Linked DNA regions of Homo sapiens: regions 1, 3 and 4 are each linked to region 2. Evidence: promoter capture Hi-C in 16 types of primary human blood cells and fetal thymus (Javierre and others, 2016). All regions are on one chromosome and are shown on one strand. The core of a region is centred on a gene start or on the middle of the fragment in contact, and the rest is flanking DNA. Distances in the headings are between cores, read along the strand shown.

Evidence for each region. Contacts are between HindIII fragments. The CHiCAGO score rates a contact against its expected background, and 5 or more counts as called.
Region 1: a contact is called between a fragment that was not itself captured here and the fragment with the promoter of KAZN in region 2, in 1 of 17 cell types (M0 macrophages). The highest score is 6.2, in M0 macrophages.
Region 3: a contact is called between a fragment that was not itself captured here and the fragment with the promoter of KAZN in region 2, in 1 of 17 cell types (M0 macrophages). The highest score is 5.8, in M0 macrophages.
Region 4: a fragment that was not itself captured here is called in contact with the fragment with the promoter of KAZN in region 2 in 1 of 17 cell types (M2 macrophages); the score reaches 7.1 in M2 macrophages.

The regions. Positions count from the first base shown.
Region 1 is chr1:15,069,165-15,071,907 of GRCh38, reverse strand. The region is part of intron 8 of KAZN (kazrin, periplakin interacting protein); the gene reads right to left. Among named protein-coding and RNA genes, the nearest start is that of TMEM51-AS1, 82 kb to the left of the region's middle. The HindIII fragment of the contact is 4,729 bases long and covers 1-2,743 here.
Region 2 is chr1:14,597,371-14,600,070 of GRCh38, reverse strand. KAZN (kazrin, periplakin interacting protein) reads right to left here and starts at 1,386. Exons shown (of 15, transcript NM_201628.3): 1 at 848-1,386. The coding sequence starts at 1,073. RefSeq lists a silencer at 560-719. The HindIII fragment of the contact is 2,542 bases long and covers 1-2,023 here.
Region 3 is chr1:15,017,972-15,021,018 of GRCh38, reverse strand. The region is part of intron 2 of KAZN (kazrin, periplakin interacting protein); the gene reads right to left. Among named protein-coding and RNA genes, the nearest start is that of TMEM51-AS1, 130 kb to the left of the region's middle. RefSeq lists an enhancer at 1-115. The HindIII fragment of the contact is 2,056 bases long and covers 748-2,803 here.
Region 4 is chr1:15,087,464-15,090,348 of GRCh38, reverse strand. All of the region lies in intron 8 of KAZN (kazrin, periplakin interacting protein), which reads right to left. Among named protein-coding and RNA genes, the nearest start is that of TMEM51-AS1, 64 kb to the left of the region's middle. The HindIII fragment of the contact is 1,604 bases long and covers 630-2,233 here.

The DNA.
Region 1 (2,743 bases), core at 161-2,660, 470 kb before region 2:
GGTAACCATTAAGAAAGCAACAAGGAATTTTCAAAACCTAAAACTCAGAAATGCAAACAAGCTACCAGCCAGTGTTTTCTGTGATCCAGAAGCATGGTTTCTGTACACAGCCTGGCAACGTCACAAGGCCTTGCAAGGCACGTGCTAGGTCATCAGAGGTCCTGCCATTTTCAGGATGAATAGGCCAAGATTTCCCCTTGCTGCTATTCTTGGATCAATCCTGTTGGGATCATTTTCTCAAGGATTCAGTTTGTTGCCCTATAGAGTACCGTGCTGCATATTTGCATATTTTCCAGCCACGGGACTTTGAGACATCATCCAATTGTGGTTCAGGTATGAAATATCCATACCCAGGCTGGGTGCGGTGGCTCACACTTGTAATTCCAGCACTTTGGGAGGCCAAGGTGGGTGGATCACCTGAGGTCAGGCGTTCAAAATCAGCCTGGCCAACATGGCAAACTCCCGTCTCTACTAAAAACAACACAAAAAGTAGCCGGGTGTGGTGATGCATGCTTGTAGTCCCAGCTACTAGGGAGGCTGAGGTGGGAGAATCGCTTGAACCCAGGAGGCAAAGGTTGCAGTGAGCCGAGATCGCGCCACTGCACTCCAGCCTGGGCGACAGAGTGAGACTCTGCCTCAAAAAAGAAAAAAAAAGAAAAATAAAAAGAGAAATATCCATATCCTATTTGCCATCCCAGACTTATACCCTCAATTTGCCCACAGGGGGACATTTTAGTGACATGCCATAACTTTGATATTTAAATAACTTCTAACATACGAACTGCTAAGATATTTGTAAGTTTGGGGGCATTATTTTGTAATGCAGAATTACGAATATACTCTTTTATAAAGAATAAGCTGATACATGTTCCCTATTCATTCTTCATTATCACCAGGTTCTGTAACCACTGGAAAATGGGAACAGGTGGGGGCCAGGGACCGGGGCATATTTTGCCCCGCCCAGTGGAGTCCAACTGGAAAAAGCCTAGGAGCCATCTGGGGTGTCTGGGAAAATGCAAGTTTTTGGGGAAAACCCAGAGATATTTTATTTATTCATTTATAAATAATAGACAGGGTCTCACTCTGTCGCCCAGGCTGGAGTGCAGTGGCTCGATCTCGGCTCATTGCAGCCTCGACATCCCGAGCTCAAGAGATGCTTCAGCCTCAGCCTCCTGAGTAGCTGGGACTACAGGCGTGTGCCACCACACTTGGCTAACTTTTGGCCCAGAGGTATTTTAAAAATCATTTTGTCAAACGACTGATGTCCCCCACGGTTCAGGCTCACTCTGCCTGGATTCCCCAGGAGCCCAGGTTGAGTGACGGGCACGATACCGTTTGTCACAGGTGCGGGGCGGCTCCTGGACCGCAGGCTCATGCTGTGGCGGGGAAGGGTGCCACAGAGCTCCCCAGGTGTTGGGGGCTGCACTACCCCTCAGGATCTGCAGCTCTGGTACAGCCAGGGGTTGGACTGCAGGGCCAGTGGAGGTGATTCTGCTCCTGACTTAGCCAGGAAGAGGAAGGGAGAGCTGGTGCTGGACAGCAGCCGGTTTCTGCTCTGATTCCCCCGCTGATTCCTCTCTAGGGGTGAGCTTTCTGGGCCTGCGGGGAAAAGGCTGATGGAAACAGACTGAGTCACAAAAGTGAGGCAGTGCAAAGCTGTGTCAGAGGCTACTGGTGGGCAAGGGGCCTTGAAACCAGGCCCAGATGATGCACTGAAGATGCCCCCCTGGGAGAAGGCCCAGCTGCTTGGCGGCAGCCCCTCACTGCTCAGACGGTGGAGTGGTTCAGGGCACAAACTCTGTAGCCAAAACTCCATAGTTTGAGGCCCACTTCTATTGTCTCCCAGCTCCATGACCTCAGATGAGTTACTCAACGTCTGTTTTCTCATCAATGACAGGCTGTTGGGAGGGTTAACTGAGTTAATATGTGTAAAGTGCATAGCATGGACCCTGGCCTGTGGTAAATGCCTAATCAATGTTAGATATTATTATTATTGTTATTATTGGTTACAGCTGTTTTAGCCTGCAACGTGGGTAGGAGGAGCACACAGACGGGCCACTGAGTACAGTCATGCAGCTTGTGTATTGAAAAACCAGGACACCATTCACGTGGTAGCCTGGAGAATGGCACCTTCTGGAGTAATGCAGTGCCCAACCTGTGCAGCTGGCCCTGGATGCCCTGGGCAGCCCTACTCCAATTTCTAATAGGTACCATTTGAAGTTGGACCATTTGGAGCAAGGTCCTGGAGAAGATTCTTTTTTAAATATTTATTTATTTTTTTGAGACAGAGTCTCGCTCTGTCACCCAGGTTGGAGCGCAGTGGCGCGATCTCGGCTCACTGCAAGCTCCAACTCCCGGGTTCATGCCATTCTCCTGCCTCAGCTTCCCTGGAGAAGATTCTTTTAAAAAAGGAGGTACGGTGGCTTTTGAGTAGAGCTACAAAGACCCAAATAAGGTATGGCCTGGCTCTTGAGAAGGTCCCAGGATGAGAGGCACGATAGCTAGGACGCTGGCCAAGTCATTCCTCTCTGGGCCAAAGTTTTTGCCATATGTCCCGCATGAGAGACGGGGTTAGTTTTGAGAGGGCAAAAAGGCTTTATCCTTGTATGCCAACTCTGATTGACTGGCTGTGGCTATCTGAGGCTATGTAAAGTGAGAAATCAGAGGCCACTTCGGGATGGGCAGGAAGGGCTCTTCAATTGATTGGTGATGTCTGCATGGGGCCAGGGAGAGGGGAGTAGGG
Region 2 (2,700 bases), core at 137-2,636:
TAAGTCACAGAAACCAAACAGTACATTTTAGGGAATGCCCCATCCGCCTTTATGTCTTGCAGGGGGTTTCAGAGCTTAATCTCTGTCAATGTGAACACAAACCAACTGTCTTTTTCTTCCTCTTCTCTAAACCGCAGAGTCCCTTCAAACGGGCTCCCTGCAGCCCACCACCCTAAGCCTTCATTTCTCTACCGCTCAACCTTTGAGGTCTACAGTATCCCCCTGGAAAGTGCTCTCGGTGTTTATATTTGCGGAAATTTAAACTCCCTGCTGAGCTGAGCATCTACTGTTGCATCTATAGATTCCAATGCCTGAGAGACCTCAAATGAGAAGAAAATAAAGTCCAGATGCAACTGAGCCAAGGGATTTGGCATCCGCGGAGAAAAGTGCACAGCAGTGCAATCCTCTATCCCAACCACGGCGGCAGAGCCCGGAGCTCTCTCTGGGAAGGAGCCTAAGGAAGTGGGGGGAACTGTGCCATTCACCCCTGCGGGGGGTGGGGAAAAGGCCCCGGCATGAAAAGTTTGCACGGAGCTAGGGGGCTGGTGCCACGGAAAGGGCACTTTCTGATGCCGGAAGGGACCCGCCGGCTGCGCCTCGCTCAGGCTGGCCGGGGCCGGTGTGACCGTGTGACCCCGTGCACACTGCGCTCGGGTTTTCGTGAATGACAGCAGCCTGCAACTCCCAGCCGGAGAGCAGCGGTGGCCACCGCCGGGCGGAAAGGGTTACAAGCCAGAATGCAAAGCGATTTCGCCCCGGGTGTGGGGGACCCCGGGTCCCCGGCCACCTCCGAGGCCGGGCGTGCTCTGCTCGCCTTCCTCCGCCCTGGGCGCCGGGGCGATCCTACCTTGCGCTCCAAGCTGGGGGTTCTCCATGTTCGTCGCCGCCGAGTCCCCCGCCGCCGAGGCGCTGGCCGCGGCTCCCGGGCCCGGGCCGGGGCCGCCGCCGCCGCTCAGTTCCGCCAGTCTCCGGTTGGTGGCCGTGAGTTCGGCTCGCAGGTTGGTCACCTCCTGGCTGGCCGACTGGACCGCCCCATCGATGCGGAGCGCGAGCTGCTTATTGTCTTCCATCATGCTCAGGATTTTGGCCTGGGGGCGAGAGAGGTGACAAAGAGCTGCATGATGCGCGGGGGGCGCGCGGCCGGGCACCCCCGGCTCTACCTGTTGTGTCCTCCGCGGCCCGGCTTCGCCCGCGCCCCGACCCCCAGGCACCGGCAGCGCCGGTTCCTCCGGCACAGGAATGACAGCGGCGCCTCCAGCCCTAGCCGCGGCGGTGGCGAGGCGGCGGGGGGAGGAGGCGGAGGAGAAAAAAGAGGAGGAGAAGGAGGAGGAGGAGCAGCGATCGCCGAGACCCCGGCGGGCGGGCGCCGAGAGCTGCTCCAAGAAGGACACCGCGCGCCACCAGGCACTCTTTAAATGGAGCCTACCATTCGCCGCCGGCTCGGGAGGGGGTCTCGGTCGGAGGCTGGGGGCACCCTTGGCCTCCCGCGCCCCCGTACTTCGGAGACACACCCCCCGGGGGGGCGGAGGCGGCGGACGGCAGTCGGGAGGGGGCCAAGGTGGCGCCCCTGGCGAGGGGCAGGGGTCGCCTGGACCGAGGCCGGCCCTCTGTCCCCTCCCTTGAGCGGTGGGGCAGCCCCCGCCCTGGAGAACTGGTGCCCCGAGCCGTGCTAAGGTTGGGGAGGTGCTGGGTGCTCGGAAGAGAGGGTGCTTGGAAAGGGGGCCTCAGAGGGGAGCCGGGGTGGATCTCCATGGAAGGGAGACGCTTGCGCCAGCTCAGGAGTGGAGTTCGTGCTCCACCGGTTCCTTAAACTGCGAGTACGAAATCCCCAGAGGGGAGCTGAGCTGGTGCCCCGCGTGCCTCTCACTCTCCACCCCCCACCCGCAGGCCAGACCTGCGCTGCCCACCCCAGGAGGGAGCGCCTATCTTCCTCGGCGTGGGCCGCTGGTGCTCCCGCCTCTCCACAGCCCTAGCCCTGTGTGTGCATCCAGGTGGAGGAGCAGCCTTAGCCAGCTCCTAAGCTTCTTAGCCGGGCTGAATATTGGCGGGGACAGAGATGAGGTTGAGAGATAAGAAGGAAGGCGTCGATGGGGCTTCTTCCCTTTCTTCTACTGGGAGCAGAAGAGTTGAGCCCTGCTGCCTCAGTTTACCCATCCCCTCTTCACAGAAGAACTGAGGTAACCTGACGTTGATATGCCCTCTCCAGCTCCTCTTTCTCTCCCAGACCACAGGCTTTGCATTTTTCACTGGGGCCCTGGATTCCAGCCACCAGACCTTGTTACCATAGCAAACTTCATTCCATGCAAATAGGACAATTTAAAACAGCCAGCAACCCTCTGGTCAACAGGGCGCCATCATTCCAGCTCAGTCAACCTCCGGAGAGCAGCAAAGAGCAGATTGCAGAAGCCAGTGGGGTGCTGCGAGGAAAAATGAGGCTGCCCACCCTTCAGGTTCTTACAGGAAGCCCATAAGAACCAAGCAAAAACTGCGTGTAGAGTGCTTTTATATGCATTCTTATCTCTTGTGAGTGAGGATTATTATTCCCATTTTAGGGATAAGGAAACTGAGGCTCTGCATAGGGTTAAGCAATTTACTTAAGGGGCCCGCAGAAACCAGGTGACAGCGGGACTGGAAGAAAGTAATCATCTGATTGCAAGTTCCTCCTGCTGCGCCTTCAGGAGGCCTTGGATGATAGATTTC
Region 3 (3,047 bases), core at 526-3,025, 420 kb before region 2:
CAGAGACACAGCAGGGTTGTTGAAGGCAGATGCAGGCAGCAGCCTTTTCCCAGAAAAGTTTACAAGAGAGGAGAGAGGCTGCAGAGAGCAGAGCTCACGAGTGAGAACCCGGAGCCAGACAATCTGGGTTCACATCCAGCTCTGCCGCTCCTTAGAGTGATGTGGGGGGACCTGGGGCAAGTCACATCATGCCAGCGTTTTTGCCATCTGTAAAAGGAATGAAAAGAGTTCCTACCTGGGTATATGTCTGAAAGGCCTGCATCTGTGCGTTCACCTGCACGAAAAAGTTCACAGCGGCCCTATTTGTAAAAGCTCCAAACTAGAAACTCCCCAGACACCCTTGATCAGGAGAATGGCCGCAGCCACTGTGATCCCTTCACATGGTGGATGGCTTGACCTGGTGAGAATGAATGAACGATGGCCACACGTGACGCAGAAGAGCCACACGGACCGAGTGTCGCGCTTCTGGAGCCAGACACAGATGAGTATATACTGTAAACAGTGCTAAGAAGAGACGATGCAAGAGGGGCAGAATTAATCTCCATGGCTAGAAGTCAGCGACAGGCTACCTTCGGAGGGGGATAGTGGCAAGAAAGGTGCACAGGAGGGCTTCTGGGAAGCGAATGAGGTCCTATTCTTGATCTGGGTGCTGATTACACAGTATATTCAGTTTGTAAAAATTCTCCAAGATATAAACTTGAGATTCATGTATTATGTGAGTATTATGTGATCCTTTAATTAAAAGCTTTTAGAAACAGCATCCACCTCATAGCACTGGTTTTGTATATGCAATGCCCTCGGAACAGTGACTAGTGTGTGGGGAATGCGGTAACCCAGCTTGTATCACCTGGAGGGCTGTGGGTCCCCATGACGTCAGTAGACACCCGCCTGGGGTAGCAGTGAGGCAGGGCAGCTCCAGGTGTGGGCAAGGTAGGCGTTGTTCCCACTGTGAGTCCCCAGGGCCCCTGGGGCTGGGGAAGGAAGATGAGCTGTGGGGTTGGTCCTGGGTTCAAGTCCAGCTCAGTCCTGCACAGGCCACGACAACGCTGTCCGTGTGTTACTGTGGTTAGTTAAGGGGGAGGACATTCATGGAGGTGCCAGGCAGTACTTGGCATGATGAAAGGTGGTGGCTTCCCCAGCACTAATAATGACAACAGCAATGATAACCGATGATAACAATCACCACAGTAACAGCCGTAGTCAGCATTTATTGAGTGATTCCTATGGGGTGGGTATTATTCTACACCTTGCATGTTTTCACTCAAATTTTCCTCAAAGCAATCCTGAGAGGTAATGCCATCATTCTCCCCAGTTTACAAATGAAGAAACTGGCTGGGCTTGGTGGCTCACGCTTGTAATCCCAGCACTTTGGGAGGCCGAGGCAGGTGGATTACTTGAGGTCAGGAGCTCGAGACCAGCCTGGCCAACATGGCGAAACCCTGTCTCTACTAAAAATACAAAAATTAGCTTGGCGTGGTGGCGGGCGCTTGTAATCCCAGATACTAGGGAGGCCGAGGCACAAGAATTGCTTGAACCAGGGGGACACAGGTTGCAGTGAGCTGAGATTGCACCACTGCACTCCAGCCTGGGTGACAGAGCAAGACTCTGTCTCAAAGAAACAAACAAACAACCAAATGAAGAAACTGAGGCAAAGGTAGATTACACTGACCCAGCTGGTAAGAGGCAGAGCCAGGTTCAGGCTGGGTGGGTCTGGTTCTGAGCCCCCTGCTCTTAATCATATCCAGGTAGGCAGTCCCTGGTGTAGCAAGGCTGGGGCAGATGCTGGACCTGGGCATGGAATGGGGGTGCAGTGGGGAGCAGTGGAGCCTGGTGGTCCCACCCTGCAAGGCCTTTCATCACCCTGGAGGCCACAGGCCCCAGTTGTCCCTGGAAGGTGTGGAGGTACATGCCAGGTCCTCTCACAGACCCAGTATGGCTGCTGGGATAAGATGAGTCTCAGTCTGGCTGGGACTCACAGCAGGTCACTAAGGATTCAGGTCCTGCTCAGCCTCCCGCCCGCCATGTGCCTTCAGGACATCCAGCAACTTCTCAGGGCCTCAGTGTTTAACTCTGTGAAATGGGCACAATAACAACCTAGCAACCTCACAGGTGGAAACGATATCTGAAGATGAGCTTTAGAATCCACAGAGATTTCAAAGGTGTGAAGACAGCTGTTAATGGGAGGGGAGGGCAGCTGCTGGGGGGCTGTGGCTGCCCGCCTGTGCCAGTCCAGGTGGGTAAGTCTGTCTACTTCTGGCATTCAGCATCAACCAGACACCGTGGCCCAGGATCCCAGCCATGATCTCAGACCCCCTTTCGGTCACAAAACACTGTGATCTTTGCTTGTCTGACTTCTGTGAGACCCCCACAACTACTTCCTAATTTAGTAGAGGAAGAAAGGAGTGTTTTTTTTTTTTTAAATCAACTCCCTAAAGTCTCTGCAGCAACAATTATTATTTTCAATTTTTGTGATCCTGTCTTTGATTTTTCCCTCTTCCAGGGGACCCCATGACGGCTGCAGACAGAGGCGTGGCAGCAAAAAAAAAATCACAGAGAACAATTTTCTTGTCTTCTCCTGCAACCAGAAAGTGAGAGACCCTGGCCACCACCAACCCCCAGCCAGGGCCCTGGAGCTACCTGATGCCATCCCGTTAATTGGAGGGGTGCGAGAGTTTTATGGCAAGACTGGAAATCTACTGTAATTAAGACCTCTATAAAATATTTAGACCGCCATTCTCAGATATATTAATGATTATACATTTAAATGTTAATGAGTGTAATTAGATGAAAGATTAGCCAAGCTTGTCACTAAATATACATTCAGGACTGATAAACTATCTCATAGTAAAATTATATGTGTGAGCAGACGTACACACTTTAGACTTCTGAGATAGACTTGGATTTGTCTTATTGAAAAAAAGCTGAAAGCGTGGCCCAGAAAAATGGAGGGGGAGAAAAGGGAGTTTGCAGGCTGGGGGGAAGCCAGGGAGATCAGAGGGGAGAACCCTAAAGACTCCATAGGGTTCTTGGAAATGGGAAAGATCAAT
Region 4 (2,885 bases), core at 182-2,681, 490 kb before region 2:
GCCTCCAGCCTGGCTGGCTTCACTCTGTTTTATTCTGCTAGCTGAGTCTCACCTCTGTTATGTGCTTCTGGGAAGAGGAGAGGTGATATGTGGCCAAATCTGGTTACCCAAAGTTCCAAGACACGGCCCCTGTCATCCATTTGGACCAGGCTTTGGAGTTGAACAGACCTCAGCATCAGGCAGATTCCTTGAAGCCTCCGTTTCTCCATATATAAAATGGGAATAATGAGAATATCTGCCTCGTAGCTTGAAATGAATGTTATAAACTCTGAATGCGAAGCTATGGGGGTGTGAAAGTTGCAGATACCAGGATGAAATCACTTTTGTCAGAACCAGAAGAATTAGAGCCGGGAAATCACGAAGGAGGGGAACTCATGCTTGCATGTTTGAGATAAGGACTGTCTCAAGGACTTTCTAAAATAGCCCCCAAGAAATTCCTTCTTCAGGACTGCAGCAATTCAGGTAAGATGTTCTCCAAAGAACACTGCCCAGTAACGTCATCTCCACCAATGAACTGATGCCAACTCTAGCTTTGAGCCTCTGCAGCCAATGAAGTCTGTTTCCAAGCAGCTTATGTGAACTTCTCTTTTTTTTTTTTTTTTTTTTTTTTTTTTTTGCCAATAAAAGCTTCCCTTTGCTGTCCCCTCTCCAGACGCACCTATGGCTTGCCACAGCTATACTTCCAGAGACTAATCCATTTATGCTTACTCCCAAATACATTCATCATATAGGAGATATTTTTTTCTGATGTCTGTTTTTTCAGGCTGACAGTAGGCACTTAGTCAAGGCTGGCTATTGTTGGCAATAAGGGGCCCCTCTCCTGGGGCTTGGGCACTGTTTGGCCACACCTAGAGTTTAGCTGCAGCCACTTCCTTCCCACTACATTCCTGGCTACAGCTTTGGTGCCTTCAGAGGGAACAAGTCCTCCTGGTTGTCCAGCCTGGCAGGGCAGAAATTCACTGTCCCTGCTGGACTCTTGCCTGGTCAAGGTGGGAGGGGTGGGGCTCTCAGTGAGGTGAGGGTGGATCTGTCCGTTCTGTGCCCAGGTGGGTGGGTGGGGGGTGTCTGCAGCCCTTGGCTATGTCTCCCCAAGAAAGGGAGCTAAAGGAGCATGGGAAGGAGAGAAAGGAGATGGGAGCAGAAGTTGGCTGCTGCTCCTGAGTCCCCCAGAAGAGGGGAAGGTTCAAAGAAGAGGGTTTGGGGAGAGAAAGGGTGTCCAGATGCAATAAAGATGCGAAAGTAAATTGAAAGGAGGAGAGGGAGAGAGGGAGTCGAGGTCAGAGAGGGGATAACAGATACGTGGACAAACAGAAAAGGCAAACGTCTGGTGTGCAATGTGAGCGTGTGTGTGCGTGTGCCTGTGTGTCTTTGTGAGTGTGTGTGGGTTATTTATTTTCTGTAGTGAGCAGGCCTCAGGGCTGTGAGGGGAGCTGGCTTTACAGCTCGCATTATTTATGGAGTCCAGGCCCTAGGAATGCCAGAGGCCAGGCTGGGTTCATGTGCGCAAACCACACATTTTGGTTTCTGCAAGACAGCTATTCACCGCCCCTATTCACCACCGCCTCCTTCTCCCCCACCCCTGAGGACTGAGCACCAACGAGACGACGTGACAGAAGGGCTTGGGAGGAGTCTAGGGGGGCCTTGGGGTCATAAACCATTAATTAAAGGCAGTTTCCAAAATGCAGGCATTATGGGGCCAGATTTTATGTCCGGATTCCATCAATCCTGGCTTTTATTTCCCTCCTTCTCAGTCTTGAGAGAGGGAATAACTCATGTTGATGGCCAGGCTGCTCAGCGGAGGGGCTGCCGAGTCGCGGGTGCTGGCTGAGTCCCTGGTGGAGTCTGAGAAGCTACCACTAAAAGGCAGTCACTCGGGATCCTTCCAGAAACTAGAAAGACTGTGGACTTTGGAACGAGAGGCTGTGCATCCTTCCACCCACCCCAACACATATGCACGCATGCACACCCCCCCACCCACAGAATGTTAGTACTACTGAGTGTGACCATTGACGTCTCCCCTAAATGAGGCCTTACAGAGGCAATTGTGTTGGCCCAGCATAGAGGTCAGCAGACTACGGCCTCCCAGGCCGAATCCAGCCCTCCCTCCTATTTTTCTAAATAAAGTTTTTATTAGATCACAGCCATGCCCATTTGTTTATTTATTGTCTAAAGCTGCTTTCATGCTACAATGGCAGAGTTGAGACGTTGAGACAGGCCCACAAAGCCTAAAGCTTAAAGCCCACAAAGTTTTTTGGCCCGGTGCAAAAGACCACATAGAGAAACGCCTGGCCTAGACGTTCAGAGGCTGGCACTGGAATATGGGAGCCCTGGGTTTGAATCCCAGCTCCGTGGCTTATCAACCAAAAGATCTCACGGAAGCGTTTTACATTTTCTCAACCTCGGTTTTCCCCTCTGTAAAACGGGGATGATAGGAACGCTTAATCTCACAGGATGGTGTGAGGATGAAATGAAATGATGTGTGCAAAGTGTTCAGCCTTGTGTCTGACATAGAGTGGATACTCAGTGACGGAGTGGAGGCCTCTGTCCCCTGCGGGCCCATGTCACTTACTGTCCAGACTGCTCTGTCCAGTACAGCAGCTACAAGCCACATGTGCCTACAGAACATGTAATGTGGCTAGCTCACATTGAGAAGTGCCTTAAGGGCTGGGTGTGGTGGCTCATGCCTGTAATCCCAGCACTTTGGGACACCGAGGTGGGTGGATCACCTGAGGTCAAGACCACCCTGGCCGACATGGTGAAACCCCGTCTCTACTAAAAATACAAAAAAATTAGCTGGGCATGGTGGTGCATGCCTGTAGTCCCAGATACTCGGGAGGCCGAGGCAGGAGAATTGCTTGAACCCAGGAGGCGGGGGTTGCAGTGAG